Linked DNA regions of Homo sapiens: region 1 is linked to region 2. The links are contacts of gene promoters, found by promoter capture Hi-C in human tissues and cell types (Jung and others, 2019). All regions are on one chromosome and are shown on one strand. The core of a region is centred on a gene start or on the middle of the fragment in contact, and the rest is flanking DNA. Distances in the headings are between cores, read along the strand shown. Region 1 holds the start of PELP1 (proline, glutamate and leucine rich protein 1). Region 2 holds the start of SPAG7 (sperm associated antigen 7).

What was found. Contacts are between HindIII fragments. The study calls those that stand out against the background at their distance.
Region 1: the fragment with the promoter of PELP1 here is called in contact with the fragment with the promoter of SPAG7 in region 2 in 2 of the 25 tissues and cell types used here (dorsolateral prefrontal cortex and liver).

The regions. Positions count from the first base shown.
Region 1 is chr17:4,701,618-4,706,496 of GRCh38, forward strand. PELP1 (proline, glutamate and leucine rich protein 1) reads right to left here and starts at 2,520. Exons shown (of 17, transcript NM_014389.3): 1 at 2,246-2,520. The coding sequence starts at 2,494. It overlaps PELP1-DT (PELP1 divergent transcript), which reads left to right and starts at 2,613. Exons shown (of 2, transcript NR_103482.1): 1 at 2,613-2,753; 2 at 3,582-3,912. It also overlaps the pseudogene RPS12P29. The HindIII fragment of the contact is 43,472 bases long and covers 1-4,879 here.
Region 2 is chr17:4,964,582-4,969,414 of GRCh38, forward strand. SPAG7 (sperm associated antigen 7) reads right to left here and starts at 3,236. Exons shown (of 7, transcript NM_004890.3): 1 at 3,139-3,236. The coding sequence starts at 3,223. CAMTA2 (calmodulin binding transcription activator 2) reads right to left here. Exons shown (of 23, transcript NM_015099.4): 21 at 4,569-4,756; 22 at 4,326-4,400; 23 at 3,416-4,238. The coding sequence ends at 4,175. LOC124900387 (a long non-coding RNA gene) reads right to left here and starts at 3,132. Exons shown (of 2, transcript XR_007065587.1): 1 at 1,820-3,132; 2 at 1,241-1,738. RefSeq lists enhancers at 2,281-2,958, 2,872-3,371, 2,959-3,635, 3,636-4,313, 4,281-4,833 and 2 more and a silencer at 3,382-3,461. The HindIII fragment of the contact is 4,607 bases long and covers 650-4,833 here.

The sequences.
Region 1 (4,879 bases), core at 1,270-3,769, 260 kb before region 2:
AGCCATGTTGGTAGGTGGATGATCAAACAGTGGATCCCCCTTGCTCGCAAGCTCCAGGTCTATTGCTGACTTTCATTTCTCATCTTAACTAGACTAGAAATTCTCTGAGGGAAAGGACCATGTCTTATTTATCTACCTAGAGACGAGGAACAGTACGTAAAACATAACAGATACTCAATAAATGTTTGTTGAATGAAACCTTTGGGGAAGGAAAGGAAATCCTCCACATAATCCCAATTCAAAGGACACAAGTAGAAAAAAAATTCAAGGCAGGATGTATCTAAACAAGTAGCACAGGAAATATTAAAGGGCGGCCCTAGTTTCCCACATCACTCTTAGCTTCTTTACTCAAAATTCTACTAGACTTCAGACATGTAAGAAAAATAAGCAAGACGTTAAGTTCATGTAGTTGACTTTGAGGGAGGAGAGGAAGTCCTGAAAGAGATGATGAAAGAAATCACACATTTATAGGCGGGATAGGTAATATTTCACAAATACTTATAAAAAAAATTTCTGGGGGGCAAGGCATGGTGGCCCGTGCCTGTAATTCCAGCACTTTGGGAAGCCAAGGCAAGTGAATCGCCTGAACTCGGGACTTTGAGACCAGCCTGGGCAACATGGCAAAACCCCGTCTCTACCAAAAATACAAAAATTAGCCGGGCATGGTGGCGCATGCCTGTGGTCCCAGCTACTCTGGAGGCTGAGGTGGGAGGATCCCTTGAGGCTGGGAAATGGAGGTTGCAGTGAGCCAAGATCATGCCACTGCACTCCAACCTGGGTGACAGAGTAAGACCTTGTCTCAAAAATAATAATAATTCTGGGACTATTGTGAGATAAAGAAAACAGAAAAACCCCACTGTAATATAACTGACTGATGAAAACCACATAAATTAGAAGAGGGGAATTTAGAGACAAGAGAAAATACATAATCAGCTCCAGCCTCTGATATTGGGCTGAGATAGCAGAGATATAGTTTTGTCACCCTCAATTATGCAGAGTAATGTTAAAGACAAACAGATAGGGTTATCTGTGATAAATCTGGGGCTAAGGTTATTGACCCACCCAGCAAATTGTGACAACCATCTTCCTGGAAGGTAGCATAGAGCTAGGAAGGTCCCAGGAATGAAGGGTGGACACAGAAGATCTCGTGTTTATGGGTCTTGAAGGATGGGTAGAATTTGGGGGAGGTTTAGTGGGAGAGAAGGGAAGATAGGAGATTGTTATAAGGAGCAGCTATTATGGGCTAGAAATATGCCTTCTTAGAATCAGTGCCTTCACCCGGACAAGATGGTGGGGGTTCAAGCTAGAATGGGAGCAATGAGAAAGATGGAAAAGAGTGGACAGATCTGAAAACTACTCAAAGGATAAAATCAACAGGACTTGACAGATTGCTTATGGAGGTGTATGAAGAAGAGTTTAGAATTACTTGAGTGTCTAGCTTGCAGAACTGAATGGTTATCAGATTCCATTCTTATAGAAGTCCAAAGGCTCCTAACCCGGCCTAAAACGCTCTGCATGACCCGACCACTGCCTACCCATCTCACCAGTCTCATCTGTACCCACTCTCTTCCCCTCCACATCTGAGCCCCAGGAACGATGCCCTTCTTTCCAGTTCCTTCCTACCACAGGGTCTTCCCACATGAGCTCTCCTCTGACTGAACAGCCCCTCCCATATTTTTTCCCTACCCAACCCCTATTCATCCTTAGGGTCTCAGCTTAAACGCCGGTTTCTTTGGAAAAATCTCTGCCAGTCTTCAGATAAGGTTAGAGACCCCTGATATTCAATTCTCATCTTGTTTCGCAGCATTTTGTGTATCGCCACCACGTCTGTAACCGGAGCGCCTAGTACAGTATCTGACCCTCAATAAGAGCTCGGTAAATGTTTATTGTTGAATGCGTCATTCAGTCAGTCGAAACAATCCCCGAAACAGATATTGCCAGAGGAAAAAGAGACTTTTAGATTATACAACTAGTGAGTGACCGGGCCTGGAACCTAATCGATTCCTGTGTGCCGACCAATAGCCTAACAACAGAAAAATAAGGCCCATTTTTCCCCTGGAGAAACTCATGGCCGATAAAGGAGAAATACGTGCATCCCGTCCGGACTGATACCTGGATCCCCTTTCTGCCCGCAGCTCTCCTTCCTTCAACCTCCCTATCGCACTTGCACTGCACCGTAATCCCGGCGCACAGGTGCCGCGCCATCCTCCCCACAGGGCCGCGGGCACGCGGGCCACGGACTCACCTGGGCCCCGCCCACCGACCCATGCAGCCGCAATAGGCACATGAGCCCGGGCAAATGTGGGGCCGAGCGGTTTGGGGGATGCACCGGAGCAACGGCAGACCCCGTTCGAGGTTGCAGCAAACCAGAAACACTCTCCAGCAGCAGCAGGCGGAGCCGCGGGCCCGAGCTCACTGCCGAGAGACCCCCGGTCCCGCCAGGAACCCCAGCCGCGGAGCCCGCAGAGGGCCCACTCAGAACGGCTGCCGCCATCTTCCCCCGGGTTCCAGTGGTGGCGTGGCGCGATGACGCAAACACACCGCGACGGCCGCCTACTGGGGAGGGGGCGTGGGGAGGGGGCTGCGGTCTTGCGCACTGAGTGAAGGCAGGCTGGACTCGCGGGCTCAAGCTGGGAAGGAGCATGCGCGGAGAGAGCAGCCTGGGCGCCGAGGCAGCGGGGTGCTCGGTTCCCGGAGTGATGGCGGATGAGGCTGCCTGTGAGCGTGTCCGAGGCGGTCCTGTGATGTTAAAGGTACACGTGGTCCGGACAAAAGGCGCCAAAGTCGGAACGATTTCCATTTAGCGGACGGAGTCTTGGGACATCTTCGCTGTAGGAATCAATAACTCTCATTTTTTTTTTTTGAGACGGAGTCTCGCTCTGTGGCCCAGGCTGGAGTGCAGTGGCGCGATCTCGGCTCACCGCAACCTCCACCTTCCAGGTTCAAGCGATTTCCCTGCCTCAGCCTCCCGAGTAGATGGGATTACAGTCGCGCGCCACCACGCCCGGCTAATTTTTTTTGTATTTTTGTAGAGATGGGGTTTCACCATGTTGGCCAGGATGGTCTTGAACTCCTGACCTCAGGTGTTCCGCCCGCCTTGGCCTCCCAAAGTGCTGAGATTACAGGCATGAGCCACCGCACCCTGCCTAGGAATCAGTAACGTGTGTGTGTGTGTACGCGCGCCAAAGATTTATTTCTTCATTTCTTGCATTTCAAGTACTCTTCGATGTCATCCTTGGCCTGAGACTCCTTGCCATAGTCCTTAACTACTACACAACTGCAACCAACCACTTTACGGGGTTTCCCCTCTCTGTCGATTTTTACAGAGCCCTACCCATTCTCCTAGTTTCTTGTTGTCATCAACCTTAATTAGGTTGATTTGGTGTTCAGCACAAAGGCCTCCACCAACTTGACATACATAGTAGGCTCATCATAGTTGGATGCAAGCACACAAAGATGGGCTTGGCGTTTGTCTAAGGCTTTGGCAGCTTCGCGAATTCCACGTGCTAGGTCATGGTGGATGAGAGCGGTCTTCAGCACCTCTTGTGAAGCAGTATTAACATCCATTACCCCTCCAGCAGCAATGCCTTCCTCGGCCGTGGCGGTGGGTTACAAGTGAAGCTGAATCTTGAAGGTACCCAAGCCTCCGCCTCCGCGCAACTCGGCAGCGGCAGGGAAAGAGAAGGAATCAATAACTCTCTAGGTAACTTGAAATCACAGACATTTTTAACTACATTTGCAACTTCAGAAATGATACAAGACGTGCGCCTTGCAAAAGCCAATTCAAACAGTACAGAAAGGCATAAAGTAAAAAGAAAAACTGCTCCTCCCCCGCAAAGCCCTGCCCCAGTAGCGTGTATACTTTCCTAATATTAGTCTATGCACAAGCACATAAATGAATATTTTACAAGATTGGGGTCTGCGTGTGGCTTGTTTTCACTCATGGCCTTCTTTATGCTGTTTTTTAAACTGTGGTATGAATGAAATGGGTGCACCATGATTTAATAATTCTATTGCTGAATTAATGCTTAAAGGCTGCTCCAGCTTTTTGCTAATGCAAACTGTAGTGAACACGCTAATACCTCTATGTTTATGTTTGTGTACTTTTGTGATTGTTAGATTCAAATCCAAGAGTCATCATTTTTCTTTTTTTGAGGAGTCTCTCTGTCGCCCAGGCTAGAGTGCAATGGCACGATCTCGGCTCACTGCAACCTCCGCCTCCCAAGTTCAAGTGATTCTCCTACCTCAGCCTCCCAAGTAGCTGGAAGTACAGGCACCCACCACCATGCCCAGCTAATTTTTGTATTTTTAGTAGAGACGGGGCTTCACCATGTTGGCCAGGCTGGTCTCAAACTCCTGACCTCAAGTGATCTGCCGGCCTCAGCCTCCCAAAGTCCTGGGATTACAGGTGTGAGCCACCCCACCTGGCCCGTTTTTCCTCTTATTGCCTCCTATCCAATCCTTCAAGTCCTGGCATTCAAGGCCTCCAAAATACATTAACCCAATAGCGTTAATTTTTCTCCATCTCCACTGCCGCTCCGGTCCAAATTACCATTCACTCTCACCTAGTCTATTACAAAGCCTTCGTTGCTCTCTGCTTCCCTCTTAGCACCCTGTAGTCCCTTCACACAGCAACCAAAGTGGTCTTTTCAAATGTAAACAAGTTGTTGTCACTCCTAGCTTCAACCCCTCTGTGGCTTCCAAATGTGATGAGAATGAAATCCCATCTCGTCACTGAGGCCTAAAAGAATCCACCCAATCTGACTCATACCCACCTCCCTGACCTCAACACATACCACAAGTACCCTTTTCCTTCTCTCTTCCTATTCTTGAGCCACGCTAGCCTTCTATTTTCCAGCAAAGCCCATTCTCACATCCG
Region 2 (4,833 bases), core at 1,986-4,485:
TGATCTCCTGACCTCATGATCCACCCGCCTCGGCCTCCCAAAGTGCTGGGATTATAGGCGTGAGCCACCGCACCCGGCCAAATCCTTTACATCTTTAAGGCCTCCTTCTTCCCCAGGATCTGAATCCTCTCCAGCTGCACTGAACCTCTCCCCATCATTTATTTATTTATTTCGAGACAGAGTCTCGCTGTGTGCCCAGGCTGGAGTGCAGTGGCGCGATCTCGGCTCACTGCAACCTCTGCCTCCCGGGTTCCAGTGATTCTCATGCCTCAGCCTCCCGAGTAGCTGGGATTACAGGTGTGAACCACCACACCCGGCTAATTTTTTTTTTCTTTTTCTTTTTTTGAGATGGAGTTTCGCTCTCTTTGCCCAGGCTGGAGTGCAATGGTGCAATCTTGGCTCACTGCAACCTCTGCCTCCCGGGTTCAAGTGATTCTCCTGCCTCAGCCTCCCGAGTAGCTGGGATCACAGGCATGTGCCACTACACCTGGCTAATTTTTTCATTTTTAGTAGAGATGGGCTTTCTTCTCCATGTTGGTCAGGCTGGTCTCGAACTCCCGACGTCAGGTGATCCGCCCGCCTCAGCCTCCCAAAGTGTTGGGATTACAGGCGTGAGCCACCACGCCCGCCCATTTTTTTGTATTTTTCGTAGAGACGATGTTTCGCCATGTTGGCCAGCCTGGTTTTGAACTCCTGACCTCAAGTGATCTGCCCGCCTCAGCCTCCCAAAGTGCTGGGATTATAGGCATGAGCCCTCTCCCCATTTTTCAAATAACTCCATGCCTTTGCACACGTTGTTCCTCTGCTTGGAATGCTTTTCCTCCTCTTGCAAACATTGAGATCTACCGTGAGTCAGTTACTTCTTCCCCTGGGCTCCAAGCTCCTTTGGCTGAGACACCCAGCAGCATAGACAGAGAACTAACGTATCATAACTTCTTTTTTTTTTGTCTCCTTCAGCATAGTATGAGCTCCTGGAGGGCAGGGACCCTGTTGATCTACTGTTCAGTTATCCTCTGGAGCCCCAGGGCCTGACAGCTTATGAGCTCTCATCCCTCTGTCCTCACTGACCATCAGCGCATTTCATCTTTTGTTGTTGGAAACAGTCTCAACTTCATCGCCCAAAATGGAGTGCAGTGGCGCAATCACCTCTCACTGCAGCTTCAACCTCCCAGACTCAAGCGATTCTCCCACCTCAGCCTCCCGAGAATTGGGACCATAGGAGCGCGCCACCAAGCCCAGCTAATGTTTATTTATTTATTTATTTATTTATCTATTTATTTATTTATTTATGAGACGGAGTCTCGCTCTGTCGCCAGGCTGGAGTACAGTGGCGCAATCTCGGCTCACTGCAACCTCCTCCTCCTGGGTTCAACTGATTCTCCTGCCCCAGCCTCCTGAGTAGCTGGGACTACAGGCACGCGCCACCACGCCCAGCTAATTTTCGTATTTTTAGTAGAGACGGGGTTTCACCATGTTGGCCAGGATGCTCTCGATCTCTTGATCTCGTGATCTGCCCGCCTTGGCCTCCCAAAGTTTTGGGATTACAGGCGTGAGCCCGGCCAATTTTTGTATTTTTTGTAGAGATGGGGTTTCTCCATGTTGCCCAGACTGGTCTTGAACTCCTGGGCTCAAGCGATCCGTCCGCCGCGGCCTCCCAAAGTGGTGGTATTAAAGGTGTGAGCTACAAGGCCGGGCCCCACTGACTGTTCTTTAACTGGTTTTCGAGTCTTCTCTGCATCTAGAGAAGTGGCACAAGATTATGGTCAAGAACATAGGCTTCGAGCCCAGTCATACCTGGGTTTGAAACCCTGCCACTTACCAAACTAACCATGTGACCTCAGGCGAGTGACTCATTTAAGCTTCCCAGTCTGTCAATGCCGGGTGATCCCCCACTTAGACAGTCATCGGAGCATTAGAGAATTCCAGTTCCCCATTCCCATCATGCTTCCTCCTTTCTCAGAGATTTCAAATAGACTCTTCTGCCTGTAACGCTTTGCTTCTCTCTCTCATTTACGGAATTACCTGTTCTGATCTCGGCTCACTGCAGATTGGGGGAGAACCTCAGGTGGCCGCTCTCACAGTTATTTTTCTCTCAGAGCACTTATCAAGTTGGTTATTAAACTTACGTGTGATCACTGCATCAATGAGCGCCCCAGCCCCGGACTGTGGCCTCCCTGAGGGGTACCCCTGGTCCCTAACGGTTGTTCAAGAAACAAGGGGACGAAGCGTAGGCAACCAGCGGCCCTTGAATACTTGGAAGGCGTCCTGCCTGCTCTGGTCCCCCTGGGGCACGTGGGGAGCTGGGACAGGGCTCGTCCGTGGTCAAGGTCCGCAGGTTTGGGAGTTGGGGTCCTGCGTTCCGCCAGTATCATCCCAAGCTGCAACACGAGCAGCCCCGGGGAGGCTCCCACCGCCCTGCAGGGCCGCGCCCTACGCCGGCCGCCGAACTCCAGCCCACCCGCAGGGAAGCTACTCCGAGAACGCAGGCGGAGACAGTGGCCAATCGGACCCGGCGGGTATTCTCATCCCTCCAATCAACACTACGATCCGCCCGGGCAGCTCGGGAATTTAAGGCTACGGATGGGAAAAAGGTTGTCGGAGGGAGGCAGAAGGGACTGGGTTAAATTAAGCAGGAGGGGCAAGAACACACAGAGGACCCTGCAACCAATGGGAATTCGCAGGCTGGGGTGGTTTCGAAGGAAGGTCGAACAGGCCTGAGGAGGCAGAGCTTTAAGTTGAGATAGCCAATAGAGATGAAGGCACAGTAGATGGCGTGTCCTAAATCCAATCGAAATAGAGCTAGAGGTGAGCGGGGCAGGAATGCGGCAGGTTGGAGGCACCCTACCAATCAGACCAGGTCAGCAGCGGACAGGCGGGACGGCCGGCTAATGGGAAACAAGGACTGCGGAAGGCCAGGGTCGGGAGAAGAGGCAGGAGGCTGGCGCTATCTTTCAGGTAGCCAATCACTGTCCGCTAAGAACAGCGGGCGTGTCAGCAGCCCTTTTAGGGACTCTGAGGGTCTCGGAAGGGGCCTGTGAGGGGTCTTTCAAGGTTGAGGAGGCGGCATCGTCCAAAGAGGGAGAAGTATGGTCCCGAGAACCGGGCGAAGGAAGGCGGTTGTGAATTTGGGATCCTCACCTCGGGCCTTGCGCCGAGTCTCCTGGTCACCGAGGCTGGGTGGCTTCTCCATGGAGCTCAGGATGGAGCCCAGTAGGTCCGCCATCTTGGGAGTGACTGAGAGGGGGCGGTGCGTCTTAAAGGGAAGGGCGGAATGCCTTTAAGGCCGGAAACACGTCGGAGGCGGAAAACCCTGGGCCCGCCTGGCCTGGGCGCAGATCCCAGGCCCGCGGTGCATGGCGGCCTCCAGCTGGCCTAGGCCCCGCCCCGCCCCCGCAGACAGAGGCCGGAGGCTGGCTGGTGCAGCGATGTTTAATGGCAATTCGTATAAACCAAGCCCATGCACAAGTAGAAAGTGCCCGTGGAGCCGGCAGGAGGCCCCCGCCGCGCTAGAGAACCACAAGCCCGGCCGTGCAGCCCTCCCCGCGGCGCCTTAAATAGATTCTTCACTATACTCTGTATGTTACAGTATGTACAAGACCCCTCCCCTCGGGGGACGGGGCGGACTCCGCAACGCGTTCCTATGTACACCACCTCCCCTTCGGCCCTGAGGTCAGTGGCCAGAGTCGGGTGATGGGGTAAGACAGGGCCAGAGAGGGAGGAAACAGACGCAAACATGCGGAGTCGGGTGGGGACACGGTCAGCCCTGAAACACGAGGGGCGTGCGCAGCGAAGGCAGTGGTGGGAACCGAGGCGGATACATTCAGAGACGCGTCGAACAAATAAATAAGGCAAGTCAGGAGGGGGCCGAGTCGGGTGCAGGCAGGAGGAGCTGGGGAGCAGGGGCAGGCAGGGCTCCGGAGGTCACAGCGGAAGATGCAGGTATGTGGGGCGCGGGTTTTCTGGAGCCAGGACCAAAAGAGACGGGGCACGACCAGGAGGGACGAGGAGAGGGGTGTGGGAGCAAGGCGTGGGGAGGAGGGAGGAGGCCTACAGAGGGCTCCAACAAAGGTGAACAGGAAAGCTGCCGACAGGGGCTCCCCCTGCCCCAGAAAGCCCTCTCCCTGTTAAGACTGCACGAGGCGCCCCCAGGGTGGTGAGAAAGGCGGTGGCCAGGTCATGTGGCCAGTCCCGGCTGGGGAAGCCCTTCCAGCTCCTGGTTCTGCTTCAGTTCCCTCATCCTGCAGAGAGAAAGATAGGAGTCAGAGGAGACTGGCGGATCACGACGGGTGGCAACGCAAAAGCCCAGGGGGAGAAGGGATGAGTACCTGTGTCGGCAGCGCCGCAGGAATCTCATGATCTTCCGGGCTGCCTGGTCCTGCTTCTTGGTGAGAAAGGAGCCTCTGGTGAAAGAAACAAAAGATGGACCTCACAGAAGGCATCGCATGCCTTCGGCCCCCCCAGGAACCCTAGGCAGGGAATGGCAGTGAGGCATGATGATCAAGAGGATGAGTAAGGGGGAATGGCGTGGATGCAGTGGGTGGGCACAGAGGGCTGGGGCTGGGCCCTACTTGTTGCGGGCAGGCAGGGTGGCCGAAGTCCGGTGGGGAGGGCCGGGCCTGCGGCGGTAGGAGCGGTAGTGCTGCTGGATGAGCACAGCCGCTCGGCGGCTCTGCTGAAATCGCTTCTGTTCATAGTAGCTTCGGAACTTGCTCTGGATCAGGATGGCCGCCTGGGTCATCTTCTTATAGAGTGCAAACTGCAGGGGTGGGGAGGAGGGACAGGGGCTGAAATAGAGGGACGGAGACCCAAAGCCCTGAGGCTCACCCAAGTTAG